3 separate regions of the Homo sapiens genome follow, and all the other regions are linked to region 2. The links are contacts of gene promoters, found by promoter capture Hi-C in blood cells and fetal thymus (Javierre and others, 2016). All regions are on one chromosome and are shown on one strand. Each heading gives the region's core, a stretch centred on a gene start or on the middle of the fragment in contact. The rest is flanking DNA. Distances are from core to core; before and after follow the strand shown.

The links. Contacts are between HindIII fragments. The CHiCAGO score rates a contact against its expected background, and 5 or more counts as called.
Region 1: a fragment that was not itself captured here is called in contact with the fragment with the promoter of APMAP in region 2 in 1 of 17 cell types (monocytes); the score reaches 5.2 in monocytes.
Region 3: a contact is called between a fragment that was not itself captured here and the fragment with the promoter of APMAP in region 2, in 3 of 17 cell types (total B cells, monocytes and fetal thymus). The highest score is 7.0, in total B cells.

The regions. Positions count from the first base shown.
Region 1 is chr20:25,320,475-25,325,182 of GRCh38, forward strand. It overlaps ABHD12 (abhydrolase domain containing 12, lysophospholipase), which reads right to left. Exons shown (of 13, transcript NM_001042472.3): 3 at 2,851-2,956. Among named protein-coding and RNA genes, the nearest start is that of ABHD12, 68 kb to the right of the region's middle. The HindIII fragment of the contact is 3,606 bases long and covers 1,519-4,708 here.
Region 2 is chr20:24,990,931-24,995,370 of GRCh38, forward strand. APMAP (adipocyte plasma membrane associated protein) reads right to left here and starts at 1,821. Exons shown (of 9, transcript NM_020531.3): 1 at 1,664-1,821. The coding sequence starts at 1,758. RefSeq lists enhancers at 1,374-1,874, 1,433-1,492, 1,513-1,592, 1,723-1,962, 1,875-2,375 and 1 more. The HindIII fragment of the contact is 12,703 bases long and covers 779-4,440 here.
Region 3 is chr20:25,409,657-25,414,193 of GRCh38, forward strand. It overlaps GINS1 (GINS complex subunit 1), which reads left to right. Exons shown (of 7, transcript NM_021067.5): 2 at 4,134-4,198. Among named protein-coding and RNA genes, the nearest start is that of GINS1, 4.3 kb to the left of the region's middle. The HindIII fragment of the contact is 5,539 bases long and covers 1-4,168 here.

The DNA of each region.
Region 1 (4,708 bases), core at 2,072-4,571, 330 kb after region 2:
AAACTATCCCCATCACTAGAATCAATAACCACGGAACTGCAGGCTGTGTGGATGGCACTGACAGCTTCAGCAGGAGCGTTCCCTGACTGGCAGGCCAGCCTCCTCTGGGCCACAAAGGCTTGCAATGTGCCAGTTACCACTGGGGCCTGGCAGAGAAGCAGCACTTAGTCCATCTTGAGTAATAGCATTTTCCTCATACGTGCCCCACATCCCAGTTAACCCCATGCTTAAATTGTCCACAGTTTAACTCACAATGGATTTTAAACAGTACATGCTGTCACATTTGCTAATTCAGCAACACCAATGTTTGTGAGCCAGACTAGAAACCGGGCCATCGCTGACGCCATTTCTAATGTCAAGTATGCACCACCTTCCCAGTCTGCTCATGGTCCACACCTGGCTGGGCACTCTGAAGCTGCTGGTCTATCTAGCCAAACCCTCCTTCAGAGAGATACTGAGGTTAATTTTAACTCAGGCCACATCGAATACTGTTAATCACTGGGGAGGGTCCAAATTAATCACTTTTCTGTAAAGCTTATTCAAATTCATTCTGGATACCAGTGACAAGAATCTTTAAAAAAATTTAATGGCCAACTTCTTATTTTCTAGATCTTAAGCTTCAGCATCTCATTTCTAACGTCTCTCTCTGATCCGTTCAAAAGGATCACTTTTGGGATGGTTCTAGTCACTATGATCATCACTCCCATACAGTTATAAATTTGAGGGATAGGACGTCACATTTTGAAGGTGCTGGGAGCAGATGTGCTTCCAGTAGCCAGCCGCCCCAAACCTGGGCTCCTGACAAAGAGCCAGGGAACTCCTAGCCAGCAGAGAAACCCATTCCTGGGCCTCTCCTCTCAGCAGACAGGCGATGGCCAGGCATGGCCAGGAATGGCCCCCAGGCTCCACTCTAGGCCTTGAGGCCCTCCTTTCAGGAAGCTGGTGGGAGGGTCTGATGAAGCGATGGTGGGGGCAGTTGGTGAGCTGGGCCTGCTGCTGCCTGAGGGCCCAATGTCATTGTGACTGCCTAGGGCATGAGAGTGGGCAGCAGCCGCACTCACCAACACGCACCCACCAACACACAGCAACACACAGCGTGGCTGTCACTGCCTTGACACTTGCCACTGACATCACTAAACAAAACCTTTTCTGGTAGCTGATAATGTATGCAGGAGTTGTTAGTACTTCCAGCCTAAGTCTCACCACCATAAACACCCTCCTGCAATAGGACAGACTCATGTTAACCAAGAAGAGGGCTGACCAAGTCCCACTCAGCAGCTCTGTGCAAAACAAGTCATGCTTCAGACAGAAACCTGAGGAGTCCCACAGTCACACATTGGTCAGTAAATGCTAGATTAAATCAAATCAGGAAGTGACAAAAGACTTTAATCCCAGCACCAACTACTAAGAACAAAAATCTCCCTTCTTGTTTTATGTTCTTTACCAAGGACCACTGTTAGAAATGTCTGAATGTTCTCTCATCCACACTGGGAAGCTACTCACAGCATTTCATTTAGAAGCTTCTCACATACACAGTGGTTTTCTGAGACAGTGGAAAGCGACGTTATGGCTACTGAAAAATAAATTCAGCTAGATAAAAGGGCTGTGATTCAGGCTCACTTCTCAGAGAAAAACGGAAATGCTACAGTGAGGTTGGTCAATTTTAATTCAGCTGTTCAGAAGCACCACTTGTGTACAGAAGAAAACATTAAAATGTATTCCAAGGAGACACAGAGAAGTCACAAGGCTTATGTCCAGTGTAAACTTATGGCTTAAAAAAGTAAATACTCAGAAGACAGCCAACACCATCATCATCAGCTGGTGCGAAGCTATATGTGAAAAGAAATCAAGCTGTTTTCAGTATCTAGATGTTCACCTCTTGGAAAAGATATATATATATATATATATTTTTTTTTTTTTTTGAGACAAGAGTCTCGCTCTGTTGCCCAGGCTGGAGTGCAGTGGCATAATCTCAGCTCACTGCAGCCTCTGCCTCCTGCGTTCAAGCAATTCTCTTGCCTCAAACTCCCGGGTAGCTGGGACTACAGGCGCGTGCCACCATGCCCAGCTAATTTTTGTATTTTTTTTTCAGTAGAGACGGGGTTTCACCATGTTGTTTAGGGTGGTCTCGAACTCCTGATCTCAAGTGATCCACCCGTCTCGGCCTCCCAAAGTGCTGGGATTACAGGCGTGAGCCACCGCGCCTGGATGGAAGATATATTCAAACCAGTGTTTGTGATTCTTCCCTTATATTCTCTTTTTTTTGGACACAGAGTCTTGCTCTGTCATCCAGGCTGGAGTGCAGTGGCGTGAACTCAGCTCACTGCAACTTCTGCCTCCTGGAGTCAAGTGATCCTCCTGCCTCAGCCTCCCAAGTAGCTGGGATTACAGGTGTGCACCACCATGCCTGGCTAATTTTTGTATTTTTAGTAGAGATGGGGTTTCACCTTGTCGCCAAGGCTGGTCTCAAACTCCTGGACTCAAGTGATCCACTTGCCTCAGCCTCCCAAAGTGCTGGGATTACAGGTGTGAGCCACTGTGCCGGCCACTTATATCCTGTTTCTAGCTTCTTTGTTTGCTTTTCGTTTTTCCTAGAAACAAGTCTCTCTAAAAATAATAATCTGTTCACAAAGCCTTTGCTGTTTTGAAAGGCTGGGAATAGAGTTTAAAGCCATTGAATCCCTCAACATTAGGATGGATCAAATGTACTGAGATCTTTCCTTTAGGAAAGGAAGAGGTGAAGATAAAAATGAACAACATTTCAGAGGCCAATGTCAAAGACAGCACCAGCTCAGTCATGTAGGGTCCTTTCCTGCTGCTGGAGGGGCTGCAGAGCTCACTGGCACTCACCAGACTCCAATGGTCACGTCTTCCTCTGGCTGCAGGTAGTAGTTACACGTGTGATTCAAACCTTGATCCTGTGGTTTTTTCAAATCAATGAAATAGGGAACTCTTACTGTAGGAAATAAAGAGATGGAAATTAGGATTACTGGTGGATGAATACACACATGTACACACAAACATGCATACTCACACACGTGCACAGATATGCATCCACACGTGCACACACACACATGCACACCCACATGCACACACTGCAGAAGCTCTCAGAAAGCACCAAGTCCTTTTCCTGTGCAATCTTACAATGGTGCCAGACCTGCAGGCCCAGCCTCAGGCAGGGTATGGGCTGAGGCCAGCCAGCATGGGCAGGGACAGAGACTGCAGTGAGGGCAAGGTCTGTGTAGAGACTGGAACGCTAAGGTCTAAGGTCATTCTAGGTGTGAGAAGATGCAAATGAGGGAAGGAAAGATCCCCAACAGGTCTGAAGGATGGGCCAGCCAGGAGGGAGGCTGGGGAGGCTGAGCCTGCGAATAACTCAGGTGCCTGGTGGAGTGGGAAGGACAGCAGGAAAGGGGATGGCGCTGCAGGACCTGATGACCAACGGAACGTTGGGTGGCAAACAAGGTAAAGGGGATTCCAAAGTTTCCAGGACTGCTGCCTAACACAGAAAAGACAGCAGAAGGTGAGGTGTGGGGCAGCGAGGGGGATGAATCCATAGGACCCATGCAGAGCAGAATGAAGTCAGTGCAATGGCCCAGCAGAAGTCCTGCATCTACCAGGTCATCTGCCAGCAGGACAGCGAGTGAATTAACCAGCACCTCACACTGTGGAAGACCATGGGGCCCTTAGACCTGGAGGAACCTCCAGGACCTGCGGGCAGATGAGAGGAGCAAGGTGACTGTGGGTGCGGGTGCGGTAGCCCCACTTTGTTATTGTAAAAACATGCAAATGAAACACGACCTCCACATGTGGCTGGGAGGATATACAGAAAGACAGAAGCCAGGCTGCTCACACAGCTTCAAAGTGTGTGTGTGGGGAGAATGGGGGCAATTTTTTCCTTATATACCATTGTAGTCTTACTGCTTTTGGTGAACACAACTTTAAAATAAGTTTAACTGAAAAACAAAAAATTTAAAATAAACGCATGAACCCTGAGGTGGGATTTGCCTGCTTTATAAAATGGCAACTCCCAAAAGAGGCAATGACAGAGAGCAGTGTGGGCCTGGCTTCCCTCTGGTGGGTCCTGCCCCCGGGGAAGCTCTGCTGCTGACAGCTGTCTCTGGTGAAGACAGGGGTTGCGTGACTCCCATGTCCATGTGGCACATTGCACATCTAGCCTCACTTCCTCAAATGTCACCAGGCTGGACTCACGAGGACATGGGGACATACACACTCCTTCCCAGAAACTCCCTGAGCGTCTGTCCCAGACCATGTGGGGAGACAGTTCCTACCACCAGGGCTGCTGTTCATACCCCACCTTCTTACTCCATCTCTTTCCCAGGAAGCAGATACATCTTCAAAATTTTAGTAAGAAGTTTCTCTCAAAATAAAAAATGGCAAAGGAGATGATCCACATCCCCATTAGCTCCAGCTGAGCCAGGCTGCACAGTCTCTGAGGCAAGCCACCACCATCACCATCTGATGGCTCCTATTAGATTGCCAGCTCACATGACGGAGCTGGATTTTTTGATACCAGCCTGGGCAACACGGCAAAACCCCACCTCTACAAAAAATATAAAAATTACCCAGGTAAGGTGACATGCACCTGTGATCCCAGCCACTTGTGAGGCTGAGGAGGGAGAATCACTTGAGCCCAGGAGGTCAAGGCTGCAGTAAGCCAAGGTTGTACCACTGTACTCCAGCCTGA
Region 2 (4,440 bases), core at 571-3,070:
GGGAAGTCAAGGAAATAAGTAAACATAAATGTAAAAGGCACACTGGAAAAGATCAGGCAGTAAAAGATGACTTTAGAATCAGATTTACTTACTCATTAAGGAAGAAATCCCCACAGAGAACCTGAAAAAAACAATTAAGTCTGCCTGCTTGCCCTGGGGCCAGAAGTGTGAGCCAGCCAACTTGAGAGTTGGGACTACCTAACCGGTGCCCTCAGGGGCTGTAGGCCCTGGTTTTCAACACACTGCACCTAATGACAAACTCAGGCCACTGCTCTTCCATTTCTCAGGTAAAAATGCCTTGTTTTCAAGATTTCTGTAGGAAAGTGTTGCCAATTCTTGCATGTCCATTCTAAATGGCTCCTCAATCATCAACAGATGATTAATTCACAATATTCACAGTAAGTAGGGTGATCAGATTGTCCCAGTTTGCCCAGGTTTAGCACTGAAAGTTCTACATCCTTGGAAACCCCAGTCCAGGGCAACGCAGGATGGTTGGTCAGGATATATGGGAGCATCTTCCCGATCTTTTCACTGGCCCAAGGAGTCAACTATCACCGCAAAGTCTTCTCTCTAAATTGCCTCTCTAGAGCCTAAATGCTCCTTCCTGCCATCGCTCTCCTTCAAATGTGTTCCTCTTATCATCAGTCAATAAACTCAGTCTACAGGGGCAAAAACTGCCTCTCATTCATATGTACCCCACCACCTCTTGGCACACTACTGATGAACAAATATTTCCAGTATTTCTATCAAATATAAGTCAATCAGTCCCACAACTTCAAGCTTGGTCTATGGGGCCTCTTGATTCTCCCTGAAACTTAAAAGTTATGAAATTCAGGACACAGAATTGAAAAGTGAATTTTAAGTATCTTATATTGAAATCTATGCTTACGAATCATGATTCAGTTTTTAGCTAACAAAACACAGCATTCTTATATTCTGAAAGATGGGAGAGGAGGCAAAGGGCAAAACCTGATATTTCTTAGGTGTCAACAACTACAGTTTCCTATGTTTCTCCATCCCTATCAGGAAAAACTGCCAGGCTGAATTCTCACAAAAATTGCCTACAATGTCACTACTGTTCTCCACTCTTTCCAAGAACCGCGGTGAGGACTGGTCACGCAGCGTGAGGGGGGCAGGTGCAGAAGAGCAAGTGTAGAAGCCATCTCTTCGCCGGATAACGAGGCAGGACCCCAGCATCTCGTGGGACCTCCTCCCTTCGGGAAATTGCGAGCGGGGAACCAGGAACACGCAGGGCCCCGGCCAAGTAGCTGTGCTCAGGGGGATCATTTAAGCCAAAGGAAGGACAGCGCGAGGGGAGCGAGGGAAAGGCGAGGAAGCAACCGCTATGCAGGGTGGGGCAGGAGTGAGGGAGGGAAGGCAAAGGAGCGGCGCGAGGCGGTCTCGGGTCCGGAGAGCCGAGGACAACGCGGCGACTGGGCGCAGGGTGCACCCGAACCTGAAAGACCTGGCAGGTACATCCGCCTTGTCGGAGCCTGCTTCCTCGGAAAAATGAGTTTTTCTTGGGGATGAAACGAGAGGACTCTGACAACGCGCTCGGCACCGCATCCCCAGGTTACTGTTACTGCCGTCGCCGCTGTCCAAGAGGGTCGCCCTCCACTCCTAGCGGCCCGGCTCCAGCGCCCAGTCTGGGAGTCCGCCCTACCTGCCGTCCTTAGCCTCCGGGGCCTGGCCATCATCGTCTGTGACGACCTGCGGCCGCAGGGGCCGGCGCTGTCGCAGCCCGTCCGCCTCGCTCATGGTACGGGCGCCAGCCTCACCCGCAGAAACCACCTCACACTGAGCGGCGCCGGCTCAGACTCCAGGCCCGCCCTCCCCCGTACGCGGAAATGACGTTGCGCCCAGGGACCATTCCGCAGCGTTCTCCCCGCCCCTTCCGGCCTCATGGGCGGGAGGTCCCCGGCGCGTCGTTGCTCGGCGCTCTGAGGCTAATTCTGACCGCCCGGAAGTGGGGCTCGGAACCCGCTCAGAGATAGCACCGGGAGCTGCCGGGGTCCCCGCCTGTCTCGGACTCCGGGGCCCAGAACGCGAGTGGTTCAACCTCGGGCTCGTCTAGCCCAGTGCCTGCGCATGCCGCCTTCGTCTCACGTTTCTGAGGACGGGGATGCTCATGACGCACTTGGGAATTGCTAGCACGAGATGTTGGCCACTTTTATCGTTGGAGAGGATAGCGCTGTTTATTCAGTGTCAGCGACCCTGCTCTTACAGGCAGCGTCAAAAATAATGCATTCACACCCTTGGAACGAAGTCACCTCTGCCTGAAAATTACATCCTTCCCCGACTCAGCCGGTTAAGGGGAAAACTTGGGCTAGAAAATGTTTCCCTCTGGTTAAGGCCAGATGTTGAGTATTAAATCTTTTTGTGACGATTACAACAGACATTTGATAAAGTTTATTAAGTTTTGATAAAGTTTATTAAGTTTTGATAAAGTTTATTAAGGATTACCCTTAAGTAAAGTCCAGGTAGAAGTAGAAATTATCACTAACAAAGTTTAAGAAAGCATAGAGAGGCATTGTTCTTTCAACAGTATTGCAGGAAACCAGAAATGTTCCCAGGTGCTGGGAGACGATGGTGGGCAAATCACAGACAAGGCCCCTCCTTATAGAAATTAAACTAGTGGGAAAGATGACTTTAATCAGATCATCATCATAAAATAGACGTAAAATTATCAAACGTAATAATTGCTTCAAAAGGGAAGAGCTGAATCTTGTGAGAGCATTTGAGATTCAAAGAGGAATCGAATCTGGAGGAAGTGACAGGCAGAAGAAATCAAAGCCCGTTACCAGTGGCACGAGGAATTATCTCTGGAAAAGCCATGTTCAAAATGCAGTGTTAAGAAATAATTTCCTCTTGGAGGCTTTTACCTTTTTAAATGCTAGATGGCACTAGAATTCCATGTGAATGCTTTTTATTTATTCATTCAAAGAGCGGAAGAACCAGCTTGAGGGAAGTGGAGAGCTGTGCAAATCCAGTTCTCCAGAGATCCCAGGTAATAATTCAGGCCTCGACAACATTTTACTTCATTCTGTGTCATTGAGAATAGCCAATACAGCTATTAAATCAGGGATAGTGTTAACAAAGTACTGTATGATCTCACGCCTTCCTGCCTGTCTGGACTATCCCTCTTGCTCCCCACCCCCCATTTCAGACATTCAGGATGGCTTAACATGTCTAATCTCATGCCTGGCTGCCTTTGTCCTTGAGGTTCCTTCTTCCTGTGATACACTCTCCTTCACCTCCACTTGGCCAATTATTTTTATCATTCAGGACCCACTTCAAGTATCCTTGCTGAAAATTCTTCTCCCAGTTTCCCAAGCAGAACATCTTCCTCTTTGTCTTCAAGGCACTTTAAACATGTCCCAGCCATAACATTGAACTCACTGCATTGGAGCTATTTGTGTTCCATGCCCAGTGTTAAAGCCCACGCACTGCAAACACCCAGGGACACATTCAGAAGAAAAATAATGGCAGTAAGTTGGGTTTACTGAACTTGCTGCAGCAAAGAAATGCACCAGAGGACCGGTGAGGTTCCTCAAAATGGGGGAGTCATGGGAGACTCCTTGTGGGGTTTGGGGGCTGGAGTTAGTCCATCGATAGTCTTGCCCAGGGTTGGTCAGAATCCGTTAACAACGGGAGTCACTGGAGGAACCGTGGCCTTAGCTCTGGGACATGTAAGTCCATTCGGAGTTATCAGGAGGTCAGCTCGTGGGCTTATCATGAAGCACGTAGGTAGTTGGTGTTACAGTGGTCTGAGCTAGATCATTTGTGCTGCATAGCACGGGTTCAGTACAGTTTTTCTGTTTTCAAGTCACGGTGAAGCACGCTTTGCTTGTTGTATTTGTTTCAGTTATCAGTTCTCCCACCCCACCTTCCAACCAGACCGACTTTGTTTCTCATCGTGCTGATGCCAGTTGTTGGCAGAGGAATGGGACCACTATGATTAATTTGATCAGGTTTCTCAGCACCACTGATATTTTGGGCCAGATAATTCTGTTAGGAGGCGGAGGGGGGCCTCTCCTGTGCGCTGGTGTTTCAGCAGCATCCCTGGGCTTCCCCCACTAGATGGCAGTAGCATCCCACCTAGTCGTGATGATAAAAAATGTTGCCAGACATTGACAGATAGCCCCTGGAGGACAAAACAGCCCTTGGTTGAGAAGCGCTGAGTGAGACCAACCAAAACCCACACCCAACCCTGGCACTGGGGATGAGGCTCACTTCCATCGGAACACTGGCCCACGTGGAGGGCATTTATCTCAACAAAAGCAGGCTCTGCCAGCATGGAAGAAGAAGCGCATGATGCTGGCAGGGAGCCCACAGTATGCCTCGCAGCTCAAACCAGAAGCAAACCCTACTTCTAGTCCAGTGCTTTTTCCCAGTCCCATGCTGTTTCAACTCCTTCCACAGAGATCTCCTGAAAGCCTG
Region 3 (4,537 bases), core at 149-2,648, 420 kb after region 2:
TTATGGGTCAAGTTAAGGAACTCGTCTGAATTTACAGCATATTGGAGGTAGAGCTTCAACTTGAACACAGGTTTTCCAGTTTCTAGTCAATTGTTTTTTCAACTTCAGAGCAGTTACCTCATTTAAAAAGTTAGGCAGCAGTCTGCAGCTCAGTAGAGATGCTTGAATGCAGAAGTGTGTAAATGCTAAAATGTGGCCTGAGAACTAGGAACTTTAGAGGTCATTGTACATATCAGGACACAGGCCTAGAGAACAGAGAGACTGTGCAAACAGGTGCGGCCAAGCTGGATTTTGGACCTGACTCTGACACTTAGTTTAGCTCTCTGTTTTACTCAAATTTTAAGTTAAGTGTTGGGTTATCACTTTGTGGGGCTAGGGGCTGGTCTTAGAAGTTGTAGAATCAGGCCAGGAGTGGTGGCTCACGCCTGTAATCCCCCCACTTTGGGAGGCTGAGGCGGGCGGATTACAGGGTCCTGAGATTGAGACCATCCTGGCTAACATGGTGAAACCCCGTATCTACTAAAAATACAAAAAATTAGCCAGGCGTGGTGGGATGTGCCTGTAGTCCCAGCTACTCGGAAGGCTGAGGCAGGAGAATGGCTTGAATCTGGGAGGCGGAGGTTGCAGTGAGCCAAGATCGGGTCACTGCACTACAGCCTGGGCGACAGAGAGAGACTCCGCCTCAAAAAAAAAAAAAAGTTGTAGAATCACTGTCTTGTAGGTCTTAATTTGGTGGAGCACCTTTTGTCTCACTAGTGCCTTCCACTGACAAACCCACCTGATACTCAAGGTGATCCAGCAGCCTGGAACACTTAGTCAGCCTGCAGAGGCTGGCCTCCGACTCAGCGGCACAGAGGAAGGCTGACAGTGGATCTGAGAGGCCCAAGGACCACACAGGCTTTTCTCTTTTTTTTATTGTTTTGAGATGGGAGTTTCGCTCCTGTGGCCCAGGCTGGAGTGCAATGGTGTGATCTCGGCTCACTGCAACCTCCGCCTTCTGGGTTAAGCAATTCTCCTGCCTCAGCTTCCCTAGTAGCTGGGATTACAGGCGCCTGCCACCATGCCCAGATAATTTTATGTATTTTTAGTAGAGATGGGGTTTCACTATTTTGGCCGGGCTGGTCTCGAACTCCTGACCTCAGGCGATCCACCCACCTCAGCCTCCCAAAGTGCTGGGATTATAGGCGTGAGCCACCGTGCCCGGCCCAACACACAGGCTTTTCTTCTGGAATCACTCATGGTTAAGCGCTGTGTTCAGCAAACAGAAAAGTGATTACACCCTTTCTATATGCAGAATTGATACTTTTTTTAAAAAGTACATTTTTAAGAAAGTTAGGCCAAGCATGGTGGCTCATGCCTGTAATCCCAGCCACCACTTTGGGAGGTCAAGGTGGAAGGAACACTTGAGCCCAGGAGTTCGAGACTAGCCTGGGCAACATAGTGAGACCCCATTTTTACAAAAAATAGAATTAGCTGGGTGTGGTGGCACACACCTGTAGTCCCAGCAACTTAGGAGGCTGAAGTGAGAGGATTGCATGGCTCCAGGAAGTTGAAACTGCAGTGAACTGTGGTCACGCTATTACACTCCAGCCTGGGTGACAGACTGAATCCCTGTCTCAAAAAGGAAAAGGTAAGAAAATTACCTTGGGCTCAGGTAGAAGTCATGCTTGCATTTTCCATCAGGAATTACATCTTTTGAGCAGAGTTGAGTAGTTGATTTTGGAATTGTGCCATTTGTATATGCCACAGCATTTTTGCCAACACATATATTTTGGCCCTAAAAATAGACAGTGAAAAAGAGATGGGATTGCTTCTCTTTCGATTGTTGGCAGACCTATTGGGTAACATTTAATCATTTTGGGCTGGACACGGTGGCTCCTGCCTGTACTCGCAGCACTTTGGGAGACCATGGCAGGCGGATCACTTGAGGTCAGGAGTTTGAGAGCAGTGTGGCCAACATGGCGAAACCCTGTCTCTACCAAAAAAAAAAAGATTACAAAAATTAGCCAGACTTGGTGGCTTACACCTGTAATCCTAGCACTTTGGGAGGCTGAGGTGGGTGGATTGCCTGAGGTCAGGAGTTCGAGACCAACCTGGTGAACATGGTGAAACCCTGTCTCTACTAAAAATACAAAAATTAGCTGGACGTGATGGGCACCTGTAATCCCAGCTACTTGAGAGGCTAAGGCAGGAGAATCATTGCTTGGACCCGGGAGACGGAGGTTGCAGTGAGCCAAGATTGCACCATTGTACTCCAGCCTGGGTGACAAGAACAAAACTCCGTCTCAAAAAAAAAAAAAATTAGCTGGGCATTGCTGGTGCACACCTGTAGTCCCAGCTACTCGAGAGGCTGAGGCAAGAGAATCACTTAAACCTGGGAGGCAGAGGTTGCAGTGAGCTGAGATCGCACTACTGCACTCCAACCTGGGCCACAGAGTGAGACTTCATCTCAACAACAACGAAAAAAATCAGAATTCTAATGTTTTATTTTTCCAAGGGAAAATTTGCCCGAAACTGGATACTAGAAAAACTCCTATGGCCGGTTTTTGCAGTGCAAACCAAAAACACTATTCCTTTTTCTTTCTTTTGGTATTAACCTTTTAAGATCACTTTTAAGCTGGGCCCAGTGGCTCATCCCTGTAATCCCAGCACTTTGGGAGGCTGAGGCGGGTGGATCACCCGAGGTCAGGAGTTCAAGACCAGCCTGGCCAATATAGTGAAACCCCGTCTCTACTAAAAATACAAAAAATTAGCCAGGCGTGGTGGTGGGCGCCTGTAATCCCAGCTACTCGGGAGGCTGAGACAGGAGAATTGCTTGAACCCAGGAGGCAGAGGTTGCAGTGAGCCGAGATTGCACCATTGCACTCCAGCCCAGGCGACAGTGTGAGACTCCATCTAAAAAAAAAGACCATTTTTTAGTAAATTATGAATTATTTACATATTTTTCTTTATACCTCATGCTTCAGTAGGACGATTGATATCTTTGTTCGTCAATTTTATTGATGTATAATTTACATACAACATGTGTATTTTAATAGATTTTTGAATTTTGACTAATATGTACATCTTTATAACCAGCACCCTGATCAAGATTTCTGTAATTATCAAAATATCTCATATAACCCATAAATATACATACCTACTGTGTACCCACAAAAATAAAAAAATTAAAAAAGATTTCTGTAACTTTGCCCCCCTTTTGTAGCTACCTCCCACCTATAGCCTTAGGCAACCATGAATTTGCTTTCTCTGACTACAGATGATATTATTCTTTTTGGCAAACTTTTCCTGTGAAGGGCCAGAGGGAATCATTTCATGTAAACTCTTGTGTCAGGCATCTCTTGCTCAGTATAACGTATTTCAGATTATCCTCATTGTTGTGTATGTTGTCAGTAGTTCATTTTTTTTTTTTTTTTCTTTGAGACGAAGTTTCGCTCTTGTTGCTCAGGCTGGAGTGCAATGGCATGATCTTGGCTCATTGCAACCCGGGTTCAAGCGATTTCCCCTGCCTCAGCCTCCTGAATAGCTGGGATTACAGCCTGTCACCACGCCTGGCTAATTTTTGTATATTTAGGAGAGACGGGGTTTCACCATGTTGACCAGGCTGGTTTTGAACTTCTGACCTCAGGTGATCCACCCGCCTCAGCCTTCCAAAGCGCTGGGATTACAGGCATGAGCCACCACCCTTGACCCATTCTTTTTATTATATTAGATTTTTCAGATAAGTGGAAGGTTTATCCATCTATCATTTGATGGACGTTTGGGTTGTTTCTACATTTTTATTGTTATGAATAATGCTGCAAAAAACATGTGTTTTCTGTTTTCTTGAGTATATATATACACCTAGGAGTAAAATTACTGAGTCATATGGTAATTCTGTGTGTAGCTTTTGAGGAACTGTCAAGTTTTTGCCCACAGGGCTATACCGTTTTACATTCCCACCAGCAATGTACGAGGGTTCCAGTTTCTCCGCATCTCACCAACACTTGTTATAACCATGCTAGTGGGGTGTGAAAGGACTATTGCTTTTTGCTAAAGTATATAAATGAAAGATACAGTTCAGTATTGATAGCATATTGCCACAGAATTGGTGGGGAAATCAGTGGATTTCAATATCGGTTTATATGTTCTAGGAGGATGGACTCAGACAAGTTCTGGAGGAGATGAAAGCTTTGTATGAACAAAACCAGTCTGATGTGTAAGTTTCATAAGATGATATTCTAAAACAATTCAATAATTAAGATGTTGAAATTGGCCGGGCGCGGTGGCTCACGCCTGTAATCCCAGCACTTTGGGAGGCTGAGGCGGGCGGATTACGAGGTCAGGAGTTTGAGATCAGCTTGGCCAACATGGTGAAACCTTGTCTCTACTAAAAATACAAAAATTAACCGGGTGTGGTAGTGGGTGCCTGTAATCCCAGCTACTCAGGAGGCTGAGGCAGGAGAACTGTTTGTACCCGGGAGGTGGAGGTTGCAGTGAGCTGAGATTGCACCACTTCACTCCAGCCTGGCGATAGGGCAAGACTCTGTCTCCAAAA